4 separate regions of the Homo sapiens genome follow, and all the other regions are linked to region 4. The links are contacts of gene promoters, found by promoter capture Hi-C in human tissues and cell types (Jung and others, 2019). All regions are on one chromosome and are shown on one strand. Each heading gives the region's core, a stretch centred on a gene start or on the middle of the fragment in contact. The rest is flanking DNA. Distances are from core to core; before and after follow the strand shown.

Region 1 (2,707 bases), core at 147-2,646, 520 kb before region 4:
ACGATCTTGCTCACTGCAACCTCCGCCTCCCAAGTTCAAGCAATTCTCCTGCCTCAGCCTCCTGAGTAGCTGGGATTACAGGCTGCACAACACCACACCCGGCTAATTTTTGTATTTTTAGTAGAGACGGGGTTTCATCATGTTGGTCAGGATGGTCTTGAACTCCTGACCTCGTGATCCACCTGCCTCGGCCTCCCAAAGTGCTGGGATTACAGGCTTGAGCCACCGTGCCCAGCCAGCTCTGCTTTCTTCCATGCAGTCAAACCCGTCTGATTGGCACCTCTTCCTCCTAGGCTCCCTGTCCCTGGCCTTCCCATTTCTCACCCGTTTTTGGTTCCAGCTGGTCTCTTCTAGTCACCTCCACACAGCTGCCAGAACAACTTTTTCCTTCATTTTTTAAGCTTTGCTTTTTTTTTTTTTTTTTTGAGACAAGGTCTCACTCTGTCGCCCAGGCTGGAATGCAGAGGCGTGATCACGGCTCACTGCAGCCTTGGATTCCTGGGCTCAGTCAGCCTCCTGAGTAGCTGGGACTACAGGCATGCATCACCATGCTCAGCTAATTAGTGTTGTTATTCTTTATAGAGACAGGGTCTTACTATGTTGCCCAGGCTGGTTTCAAACTCCTAGGCTCAAGCGATCCTTCTGCCTCAGCCTCCCAGAATGTGAAACCCTGTCTCTACTAAAAATACAAAAAATCAGCGGGACGTGGTGGCACATGCCTGTAATCCAGCTATTAGGGAGGCTGAGGCAGGAGAATCACTTGAACCTGGGAGGCGGAGGTTGCAGTGAGCCGAGATCGCGCCACTGCACTCCAGCCTGGGGGACACAGCGAGACTCTGTCTCAAAAACTAAAACAAACAAACACACAAAAAGAAAACCCTGATGTGGGCCTGTGGACTGGGTCTGGGTCTAGACAGTGCCAAGCAGTTGTATACCTTTGCTAATATAAAAATGGTAGCAAGCATTTATTGAGCACTTACTGTGTGCCAGCCACTGTGCTTTACCTGCATCCGCTCATCTGACCCTCACAACAGCCACATGAGGTAATTACTATCATTATCCCCATTTTACAGATGGGGAAACTGAGGCCCATGGAAATGAAGTAGCTGGCCCAAGGTCAGGATTTGAACCCAGGCAGTCCAAGCCCAGAATCTGTGGCAACTTAGCATGCATTCCCTCTGTCTCACGTGTCATACTTTCCTGTCCACCGCATCACCCTCGAGCTCCCACATCAGTGTTCCCTCCTCTGCTTCCTGGGGCACAGCCAGGTTCCTGCTCTCTCCTCTCTGCTCCCATGGCCCTCTGCCCTCTGTGACTGGGGCCTGTGACCATCTGTTTCCCCCACTGTCTGTGCTGCTGGCACAGAGTGGCTGTTCAGGGGATGTTTGTTACCTTGACGTTCCAGATCCCGGGGGCATAACTGCTGGCAGCACCGACGAACCCCCAATGCTGACCAAGGAGGAGCCTGTTCCAGAACTGCTGGAAGCTGAGGTGAGAGAGGCCAGAAGGCTGGACTCCTGGGTCTTGGAGGGAATGGGGGATCTGGGCAGTCGAAGGCTTGGAGCCTGCGTCCTGAGGGCCTGGAGGAGAGGCAGACCTGGGACAGAGCTGAAGGCTTAGGGGCTGGGTTCTTGGGACTGAAAAAGAAAGGGTGTTTCAGAGACAAAGTGCTGAGGGCTGGATCAGGGCTGATTGAGACCATTAAAAGCCTGACAAAGCTGGGCGTGGTGGCTCACGCCTGTAATCCCAGCACTTTGGGAGGCGGAGGCGGGTGGATCATGAGGTCAGGAGATCGAGACCATCCTGGCTAACACGGTGAAACCCCGTCTCTACTAAAAATACAAAAATTAGCCGGGCGTGGTGGCACGTGCCTGTAGTCCCAGCTACTCGGGAGGCTAAGGCAGGAGAATTGCTTGAACCCGGGAGGCGGAGGCTGCAGTGAGCCAGGATCGCGCCACTGTACTCCAGCCTGGGTGACAGAGCGAGACTCCTTCTCAAAAATAAATAAATAAATAAAGCCTGACAAAATCATGGCGCTCCTCCATGCATTTTCAAAAAATATCAAAAAATATCTAACTGTATAATTAGCATAAGAAAATTCCTTATAAACCTCTGACATTTCTCACGAGGCTACCTCGAGGCATTTTCAGAAATATCAAATATCAGGTTCGTTCCTCCACACAGTGTCACTGTCGTTGTTGTTTTTGGTGCCTGCTTCCTCTGCATCCTGGGCATCTGGCCCTGGGCTTGCCTCCCGGGCCCAGGAGGGGAGGGGAGTGGAGGCTTTGGAGAAGGCAGAGGCTCAGAGGCTGGACGCCTGGGTTCTGTGGAGCTCACGCCTGTCCACCCTTCCTCTCCAGGCCCCCGAAGCTTACCCTGTCTTTGAGCCAGTGCCACCTGTCCCTGAGGCAGCCCAGGGTGACACAGAGGACTCGGAGGGTGCCCCCCCACTCAAGCGCATCTGCCCAAATGCCCCTGACCCCTGAGAAGCCGGCCTGCCTGTCCTGTTGCCCCAGGGGCCCCTTTGGCTTTTTACAAATAAAGACCCTTTTGTAATTTTGTGTCATGTCATTTCCCCGTCAGGGCTGGGGAGGGTCTTTGGAGACAGTTTTGTCTCATGCACCATTGCTCAGATGTGGTCACTGAGGCTCTGAGAGGACCTTCCTGTAGTGACACCACAAGGCAGAGTGGGGTGGGGGCTTGAGCC
Region 2 (2,700 bases), core at 80-2,579, 710 kb after region 4:
GCTTCTGCCGCCGGCGCCACAGCAGGAGCAGAGCCACGAGGACTATGACCGCCAGCAGGGCCACAAGCACAGCCACTGGCAGCATGCCTCGTGAGTTCTCATCTGGGTTCCGGAAGGGCACAGTGCTTGCGTTGGTGGAGGTCGTTGGAGACATCATTGTAGATAGTTTTACGCTAGAGACCTGGGGTCCACTGGCCCCGCTGGAGGGCTCCAGAGAGCCAGTTGTCATGGTAACAGGGGGTCCAGTGGTCCCAGTGGAGGTCTCCAGAGAGTCAGTTGCCATGGTAACAGGGGGTCCAGAGGTGCCTTTGGAAGTCTCCAGAGAGACAGTTGCCATGGTAAGAGGGGGTCCAGAGGTGCCTCTGGAGGTCTCCAGAGAGCTAGCTGCCGTGGTAACAGGGGCTCCACTGGTCCTACTGGAGGTTTCTGGAGAGTTCGTTGTTATGGTTCCACCTGTCACGGTGTGGGATCCTAGAGAGTTTGCTGTTATGGGAACAGCAGGATGACTGGTTGCATGAGGGGTTTCCTGGGGCACTGATGACATCTTGATGGAAACTTCCTGGTAGGTTGTTGGCTCAGGTAAAGGGGAACCAGTGCTGGCACCAATGGAAGTCCAAAGAGGGGATCCCTCATTGATGGAAGTTGAGGGAGGTAGGGCTGAGGTCTGGTCCCCAGTGCTGTCGGCCTTAGGGTCACTTGTTATTGAAGTGGTGTACATCTTTGAGCTCAGGGGCTCGCTAGTAGAGACCAAAGGCTCTCCGGAGGTGGGTGTCTGCACTGCTGTTGTGCTCCCCAGAGCGTCTGGGCTTACCACCAGCACCCCAAGGAGAAGGAGAAGCGTGGCCATTTCCAGGCAAACAGGCAGGAGCAAGAGCTGGGACCTGCAGGTGGGCAGCCGGAGAAGCAGAACACGCGGGAGTTGCCGGAGGACCTGGCCGGGCCTCCCCTCTGCCCACTTCCCTGCCAACGGCCAGGCCCAACCTGCGGTTTAACGGTTTTTTCCATGCTGGCTTTTACTGTTATCAGAAATGACAGAGGAACAGATGCTGGCAGCTCCCCCATCAGCCCCATCCTGAGGCTCCCTCCAGCCTCAGCAGCTTAGATTCCAGCAGTGACCAGCCCCTCCTGGCCTTCCCTGACCCTGTGCAGCCCAATGGCTCCCAATCTCTTCCCATCATAACCTGTCAGAGTCTTTTCAAGCCACAGGCACATTCCCAGGCCCACTGAGGCCCCTACCCCACCAAGTCTCACCCTCTTACCGGCTCGGCTGATAAGGACGCAGCACTGGGGCCAGGTCACTCCACCACCTCCCGAGGCTGGGGCAAGACTGGGAAGGACAGGGCCCCAAGGGGAAAGGAAGTGGGCCCTGGCTCCACCCACCCCACCCACCCCTCCATCCTGCCCCACCCGCCTGCTCCCACAGCTGCTGGGCGAAGACAGCACCATCACCTGCTCCTTCAGGGGCCAGCGGGGTGCCTGGGGGTCTGGGGCTCACCTGAGGGAGGCAGGGAAGCGTGGGATCTGGAATCAGGATTCCTGGCTCTTGGCTGAGGAATGGGATGGAAGTGGTGATGCTAGGGAGGGCTGGGCTCAGAGGTGGGTGGTGGGAATGTGAGCCTGAGAACTCAAGGGTGCAGAGGAGGAGGTGGGAGGGGAGGGTGGTTTCCTTTGCATTTGTGGTCCCCAAGCTGTTAGGCCAGGAGCTGAGTGGCGCCATTTCCTGCCCTCAGAGCTCCCAGGAAGTAGCAGGGCAAGAGGAAGCCCCCGAGTCTGGCTGGGGGCCGTGAAAACCTTTGCAGGCTGGTGAGCTCTTGACTCTGTCCGGGGAGCTGGGGGTCACCACAGTGGCCCCCAGTCACAGAGACGTGGCTAAACCAAGGTGGTTCCTACACACTGCATATGCTAGGATCTTATTTCTGCAAACTAGTAAAGATGTGGGAATCTTTTTTTTTTTTTTTAAGGCGGAGTTTAGTGCAATGGCATGATCTTGGCTCGGCTCAGCACAATGTCTGCCTCCTAGGTTCAAGCAATTCTCCTGCCTCGGCCTCCTGAGTAGCTGGGATTACAGGCTTGCACCACTGTGCCCGGCTAATTTTGTATTTTTCGTAGAGACGAGGTTTCTCCATGTTGGTCAGGCTGGTCTCGAACTCCTGACCTCAGGTGGTCCATCCGCCTCAGCCTCCCCAAGCGCTAGGATTACAGGTGTGAGCCACCGCGCCTGGCCAGATATGGGAATCTATATGGAAAACCGTCTGGAAAGATATCTACTAAGGGATTCACCTAATTGTCTTTGGATAGGTGAGAGTAGGAGGTGGGGGTATTTTCTTCTTTGAATGGTTCCCATTTCCTGACTTTCCTCTAATTAGCAAGCTTTGACTCTCGGTTTGTGTATGTTTTTGGTTTTTGTTCTTGAAAAACGAAAATCAGTCCCGGGTGTGGTGATACATTATGCTGGCAGTCCAGGCCAAAGTGGGAGGACCTCCTGAGCCCAAGAGTTTGAAACCAGCCTGGGCAACGTAGCAAAACTCCTATCACTAAAAAAATAAATAATTTTTTAAAATCAAAACTGATTTGTATATTTTAAGAGCAACATGTGCACAATAGAAGATTCTAACAGGCCCGTGGGACTGTGCCATTTCTACAAGCTGATGAGTTTGTCTGACCCAAAGACATGAGACTCCTGGGTGAGAGCCACAGGAA
Region 3 (2,829 bases), core at 242-2,741, 570 kb before region 4:
TGATTGCTCATTCAAGTTATTCATTCAACAGCTATCTATGGAGCAGCCACTGAGAACGTGCTGGGGGACCAGCCAGCGCTTGCCCTCAGGGAGCTGGAGACCCTGGCAGGAGGGCACAGATGTGCATCAAGGCACTCCACAATTGCCCAGTATTATGCTGGCGGGCTGCTCTCAAAGCTGAGAGGGACTCTGAGCTCAATGTGGGGTGGGATCAGGGAGAGCTTCTTGGAGGAAGTGGCATTTATACCCAGGCCTAAAGGATGATGAGATTTAAGTAGATGAAGAGAGATGGCCTCTGCTCCCAGCATCCCCCTCTGCCAATATGGGCCTCCTGCCCCACCAAACTGCTGAGTCTCACACTCCCTGGGAAAACCCTGTTCCTTTCAAGACTCAGTTCAAAGTACACAGCAGGTGGGTGAATGAATGAATAATGCCCAACCAGGGCCTTCCTATTCAAACTCATGTATTCTTTCCTTTCTTCAAATACTTTACCATCCAGCATGAGTCAGAAGAGACCTGAGAGGCCTCCTACCCTACCCTTGCCCAGCCCATTCTCCAGAAAAGCAAACAGAGGTTGCACCTGGTTTGGTGTCTGGTGGAGGCAGCAGCAACTCCCGGAGCTGGGAGTCTTTAACATCCTCGATCCAGCGGAGGTCCAGGAGCCGCAGGGCTGGCAGTGGGGCTGAGCCCAGGGCAGAGACAGAGAGCCAGGAGCAGCCAGAGAGCACCAGCTCCTGCAGGCCTGCGGAGAGGGGGCAGTCAGGAAGCAGGTGCTGTGAGGACTCCATCCCAGGCCTGTCCCTGTCCCCACCCTGTCCTCCGTACCACACACCCTACCTTGTAGTCGGTTCAGAAGCCACATGAGCTGCTTCTTGGAGACACCTGTCCAGCTGAGGTCCAGGGCACGGGGCTGGCGGCGAACCACACCACTGAGCATGGGCGGGGTCAGTGACTTCCGCCGGCTCAGGTCCATTCGAGGCCACAGACGCTTGTCATAGCACCTGGCGGCCATAGGGGGGAGACAGAGACCTCAGCCCTCAGCTCTCAGCAGCCCACAGTTCCCAGGCTCCCCAGCTCCAAGGGTGCACCCCAGCTCTCTTCTGGCCACACAGACAACAGGGTAGCAAGAAGCACCTGACCTCAGCCAAGAGCACTGGGATTGGAACCCAACTCCATCACTAACTGGAAATGAGACCCTGGGCAAGTCTGTTCCTCTCCCTGAGCCTCAGAAGCCTCGTTTATGATTGAAGGCAATAGCCCCCCCACTCTGCCTGCCCACAGGGCAGCTGTCAGGTCACATGGGCTCATCCCAGCTGTGGGCCTCCCAGCATAGAAAGTGTGCTGCCCAACACATACACAAATGCCACGCATGCTGCCTGATGTCATGCCAAGGGGACTGGTGTTATCCAGTCGTCTCCAGCCACCCTTGGGCTTCTTGATTCCTGACTGAGTTCTGGTGCTCATGGGTCCTTGCCTCCTTTACTCATCTCTGCTTCTGATCCACACCTGTCCCATCTTGACAGCCAGCTGCCCGCAGCTGGACTTACAGCCCTAATATCTTCCCTATTACATTACTGTGTTCCTCCAACTACAATGTAAATTCCACAAGGGCAGATTTGCGTTTTCCACTTTTTGAAAAAAAATTTTTTTTGAGACAGGGTCTCACTCTGTAACCCAGGCTGGACTCAGGCTCACCGCAGCCTCAACCTACTGGGCTCAAGCAATCCTCCCACCTCAGCCTCCTGAGTAGCTGGGACCACAGGCACATGTCACCACGCCTGGCTAATTTTTAAACAATTTTTTTGTAGAGACAGGGTCTCACTATGTTGCCTAGGCTGGTCTTGATCTCCTGGCCTCAAGCGATCCTCCTGCCTTGGCCTCCCAAAACACTGGGATTACAGGCATGAGCTACTGCACCCAGCTGCCCATTTGTAATGAATGAATCAAGCTAGTAACTACTTAAAGCTTCCACTGACCACTCTCCCCCACCTCCTCATCTACAGCATTTCATTTATTCACTCTGATTATAGAAAGCGTTATAGGTCCCAAGTATTGAAGCTACAAAGATGAACGAGTCCTAAGCAACATTAAACAGGTTTCCTAACCCGAGCACTCCACAGGCCTCAACAGACTATCTAACATGCAGTGGGCTGGGTGCAGTGGCTCACACCTGTAATCCCAGCACTTTGGGAGGCCGAGGTGGGTGGATCATGAGGTCAGGAATTCGAGAACAGCCTGGCTGTTCTACTAGTGAAACCCTGTCTCTACTAAAAGTACAAAAAATTAGCTGGGCATGGTGGCGGGCGCCTGTAATCCTAGCTACTCGGGAGGCTGAGGCAGGAGAATTACTTGAACCCGGGAGGCGGAGATTGCAGCGAGCCGAGATCGCACCACTGCACACCAGCTGGGGCAACAGTGAGAGACTCCATCTCAAAAACAAACAAACAAACAAACAAACAAAAAACATGCAGTGAACTGGAGAAGGGCCTCTCAAACGTACTTCCCCAGGAATCCTTCCCCACCTCTCCCAAGGTAATCTAGTAACATTTTGTAGTACACTGAAGTTCCTTTGGACTCAGTTTGAGAACTCTCTTCTCTGAGTTCAGTAGTTCTCAAAGGCATGTCCAGAAATGCCTCTGAGACTCAATAGACTGTGTCAGAAGCAGCAGGCCCAGGAAGCTTTTTTTTTTTTTTCTTGAGACAGTGTCTTGCTTAGTCACCCAGGCTGGGGTGCAGTACTGCGATCACAGCTCACTGCAACCTTAAACTCCTGGGCTCAAGCCATCCTCCTACCTCAGCCTCCTGAGTAGCTGGGACTACAGGCACATG
Region 4 (2,893 bases), core at 327-2,826:
TCAGACACTGAGTGGGAATTGACAGGACATGGGGCTGAGTTGGGAGTGAGGGACCTTAGAGGACTCAGAAACCAAGGAGGAGCTGAGAAGTCGGGAGCTAGGTCTCACTGGAATTCCAGGATGGTGGATGCTATATGGAAATCAGAATATGGGGGTCAGAGAAAGAAGAGGGCGTTTAGAAGTTGGAAGGTTGGAGCTCATAACGTCAGGTCTTTATGCTTGTGATCTAAGGACAACCTGGAGCGCTCATGAGATTGAGGTCGGGATTCTCAGTGGAACATGAGGAGCACAGAGGGATGTGGCAGTGAGGGGAGAGGGGTTGACGGGACTGGGGCCTTGGATCCCCAAAAGAATAGTAACACACATATGGGGAGTTCATGGTATTAGGGATTCATGGATTTGGGGTTTGAGATCCCCACTAGAAGAAATGGAGGGGGTACTCAGAGGGATAAGGTCTGAGGAACTGGAGCCTGGGTTCTGGGGAGGAGCTCAGATAGATGGGAACTGAGGAGAGGGACTTGGAGGTTGGGATTCCCGCAGGAAATGGGTGAAGCAGAGATATGGGTTGCTTATAGGATCTGGGGGCTCTGGCTATTGCCACCTGGGCCTGGAGTGTTGGGGTTAGTTGGGGGCCGAGATCGGAGAATTATAGAGTAAAGGATGAGAGTACTGGGTCAGGGCACTGGATCTGTGGTGGGGCTCAGGGTCCCACAGACCACCAGAGTGTGGGGCTCAGGAGCTGAACGAAGAATAGGGGACCGGAAAGGACTCGAGAGGGGGCAGCGCGGCACTCATTGGTTGAGGGCTGCACTAATGCCCCCGCCCCTTCTCCGTGCTGTCCCCAGCTGTCACCCTCCCATAAGGCTTGTCTCCGGTTGTCACCGACTATCCCTGGGCTGGCACCGCCTGCTGGCAGCATCTTTGCCCTTTGGATGCTCCCATTGGCTGAGACAGCTATCTATTTTCCTGTCCTGTGGCCAAAGTGGGAGAACACGATCATTGGCTGACGGGGCGAATTAATCTCTAGCTTGCCCCGCCTCCTCCCAGCTGTCATTCCTTACTGACCATTTTGGGAGACCTAAAGAATTCTTCAGCTCTTCCTATTGACTGCGGATGCTGTCTGTCACCGCCTAAATAGACATCACTGCCTGTCAATTTGACCTCCACCTGCTCCCCTTTTCATTGGCTCCCTTTTTACCATTCCTATTGGTTAAGAAGCCTCCAGGCCCCACCTCTTACTCGCACAGCCCTGCCTCCTCCTCCGCCCTTCCGCGGTCATTCACCCTTCAGTCATATTCATTGGCCAGGAGGTTCAGACCCCTGCGTTTCTATTGGTTATTTCTTTCGTCCCATCGCCCCCTGCCTTTCCTCGTCCTCTGATTGGTCTTACAGCCCTAGCTTTCTCCGTTTCCTCTTTCCAGATGACCCACCCCTTTTTCGCCTCCAGCCCCGCCCACGATTCCAACGATTGGCAGAAGCCCAGTTCTCTCTCTCCCACTATTCGTCCAAATCCTCTGACTAGGCGGGAGAAAAAAGGAGCGCGATGAGCCAGTCCGCGCGCAGGCGTGGAACGCCGAGACGCTGGCGCGGAGCCGGCTCTGCGGCGTGTGCGCAGGCGCGAGGTCGGCGGCTCGCCCCCAAGCAGGAGGGAGGGGGCGGTGGCGAGAGCGCGCGAGGGGGTGAGAGGGCTCGAGAGAGACCCCGGCGCGCGGCGCCCCCCGACCCCTGCCCCGCCTCTGCGCGCCCAGCGGCCGCTCCGCCCCCGGCGCGCGCCGAGCCGCGCCCTTCGCCCTCTCCCCTTTCTCGGCTGGCCTCGCCGGGAGGCCCGAGGGGCGGCGCCTTCTGCGGCCTCCCCGGCGGGGGGATGTGAGGGGCGGCCCGCGGCCATGGAGACGGGCACGGCGCCCCTGGTGGCCCCGCCGCGCCGTCATGGCGCCCCCGCGGCCCCCTCGCCGCCGCCCCGGGGTTCCCGGGCCGGGCCCGTCGTGGTGGTGGCTCCGGGACCTCCAGTGACTACGGCCACTTCGGCCCCCGTCACCCTGGTGGCCCCCGGGGAGGCGCGGCCCGCCTGGGTCCCGGGGTCGGCCGAGACCTCTGCTCCGGCCCCGGCCCCAGCCCCGGCCCCAGCCCCGGCTGTCACGGGCAGCACGGTGGTGGTGCTGACCCTGGAGGCCTCGCCCGAAGCCCCAAAGCCGCAGCTCCCCTCCGGCCCGGAATCCCCAGAGCCCGCGGCAGTGGCTGGAGTTGAGACATCGAGGGCTCTGGCCGCAGGGGCAGACTCGCCGAAGACAGAGGAGGCTCGACCCTCACCCGCCCCAGGACCAGGGACCCCCACCGGGACCCCTACCAGGACCCCTTCCAGAACGGCTCCTGGTGCCCTGACCGCCAAACCCCCGCTTGCCCCCAAGCCGGGAACCACAGTGGCCTCAGGAGTGACTGCACGGAGTGCATCAGGACAAGTGACAGGTGGGCATGGAGCTGCCGCAGCAACATCAGCATCAGCAGGACAGGCTCCTGAGGACCCCTCAGGCCCTGGCACAGGCCCCTCTGGGACTTGTGAGGCTCCGGTAGCTGTCGTGACCGTGACCCCAGCTCCGGAGCCTGCTGAAAACTCTCAAGACCTGGGCTCCACGTCCAGCCTGGGACCTGGCATCTCTGGGCCTCGAGGGCAGGCCCCGGACACGCTGAGTTACTTGGACTCCGTGAGCCTCATGTCTGGGACCTTGGAGTCCTTGGCGGATGATGTGAGCTCCATGGGCTCAGATTCAGAGATAAACGGGCTGGCCCTGCGCAAGACGGACAAGTATGGCTTCCTTGGGGGCAGCCAGTACTCGGGCAGCCTGTGAGTACCAGTGGGCACCCAGCGGGACCGCCTCGGGGAAGCAAAGGTTGG

The links. Contacts are between HindIII fragments. The study calls those that stand out against the background at their distance.
Region 1: a contact is called between a fragment that was not itself captured here and the fragment with the promoter of TBC1D10B in region 4, in 1 of the 25 tissues and cell types used here (lymphoblastoid cells).
Region 2: a contact is called between the fragment with the promoter of SPN here and the fragment with the promoter of TBC1D10B in region 4, in 1 of the 25 tissues and cell types used here (lymphoblastoid cells).
Region 3: a contact is called between a fragment that was not itself captured here and the fragment with the promoter of TBC1D10B in region 4, in 1 of the 25 tissues and cell types used here (pancreas).

The regions. Positions count from the first base shown.
Region 1 is chr16:30,887,644-30,890,350 of GRCh38, reverse strand. It overlaps BCL7C (BAF chromatin remodeling complex subunit BCL7C), which reads left to right. Exons shown (of 6, transcript NM_004765.4): 5 at 1,406-1,491; 6 at 2,361-2,556. The coding sequence ends at 2,486. The region is part of intron 2 of MIR762HG (MIR762 host gene); the gene reads right to left. Among named protein-coding and RNA genes, the nearest start is that of MIR762, 4.9 kb to the left of the region's middle. RefSeq lists an enhancer at 2,394-2,707. The HindIII fragment of the contact is 5,651 bases long and covers 1-2,707 here.
Region 2 is chr16:29,661,876-29,664,575 of GRCh38, reverse strand. SPN (sialophorin) reads right to left here and starts at 1,329. Exons shown (of 2, transcript NM_003123.6): 1 at 1,260-1,329; 2 at 1-881. The coding sequence starts at 847. RefSeq lists silencers at 225-344, 1,605-1,664 and enhancers at 1,845-1,924, 2,565-2,614. The HindIII fragment of the contact is 34,536 bases long and covers 1-2,700 here.
Region 3 is chr16:30,940,288-30,943,116 of GRCh38, reverse strand. It overlaps FBXL19 (F-box and leucine rich repeat protein 19), which reads right to left. Exons shown (of 11, transcript NM_001382779.1): 8 at 838-1,001; 9 at 581-742. Among named protein-coding and RNA genes, the nearest start is that of ORAI3, 7.4 kb to the left of the region's middle. RefSeq lists an enhancer at 1-553 and a silencer at 978-1,107. The HindIII fragment of the contact is 5,049 bases long and covers 1-2,829 here.
Region 4 is chr16:30,369,177-30,372,069 of GRCh38, reverse strand. It overlaps TBC1D10B (TBC1 domain family member 10B), which reads left to right and starts at 1,576. Exons shown (of 9, transcript NM_015527.4): 1 at 1,576-2,842. The coding sequence starts at 1,887. It also overlaps a transcript of MYL11 not described here. RefSeq lists silencers at 1,691-1,980, 2,071-2,150. The HindIII fragment of the contact is 6,682 bases long and covers 1-2,893 here.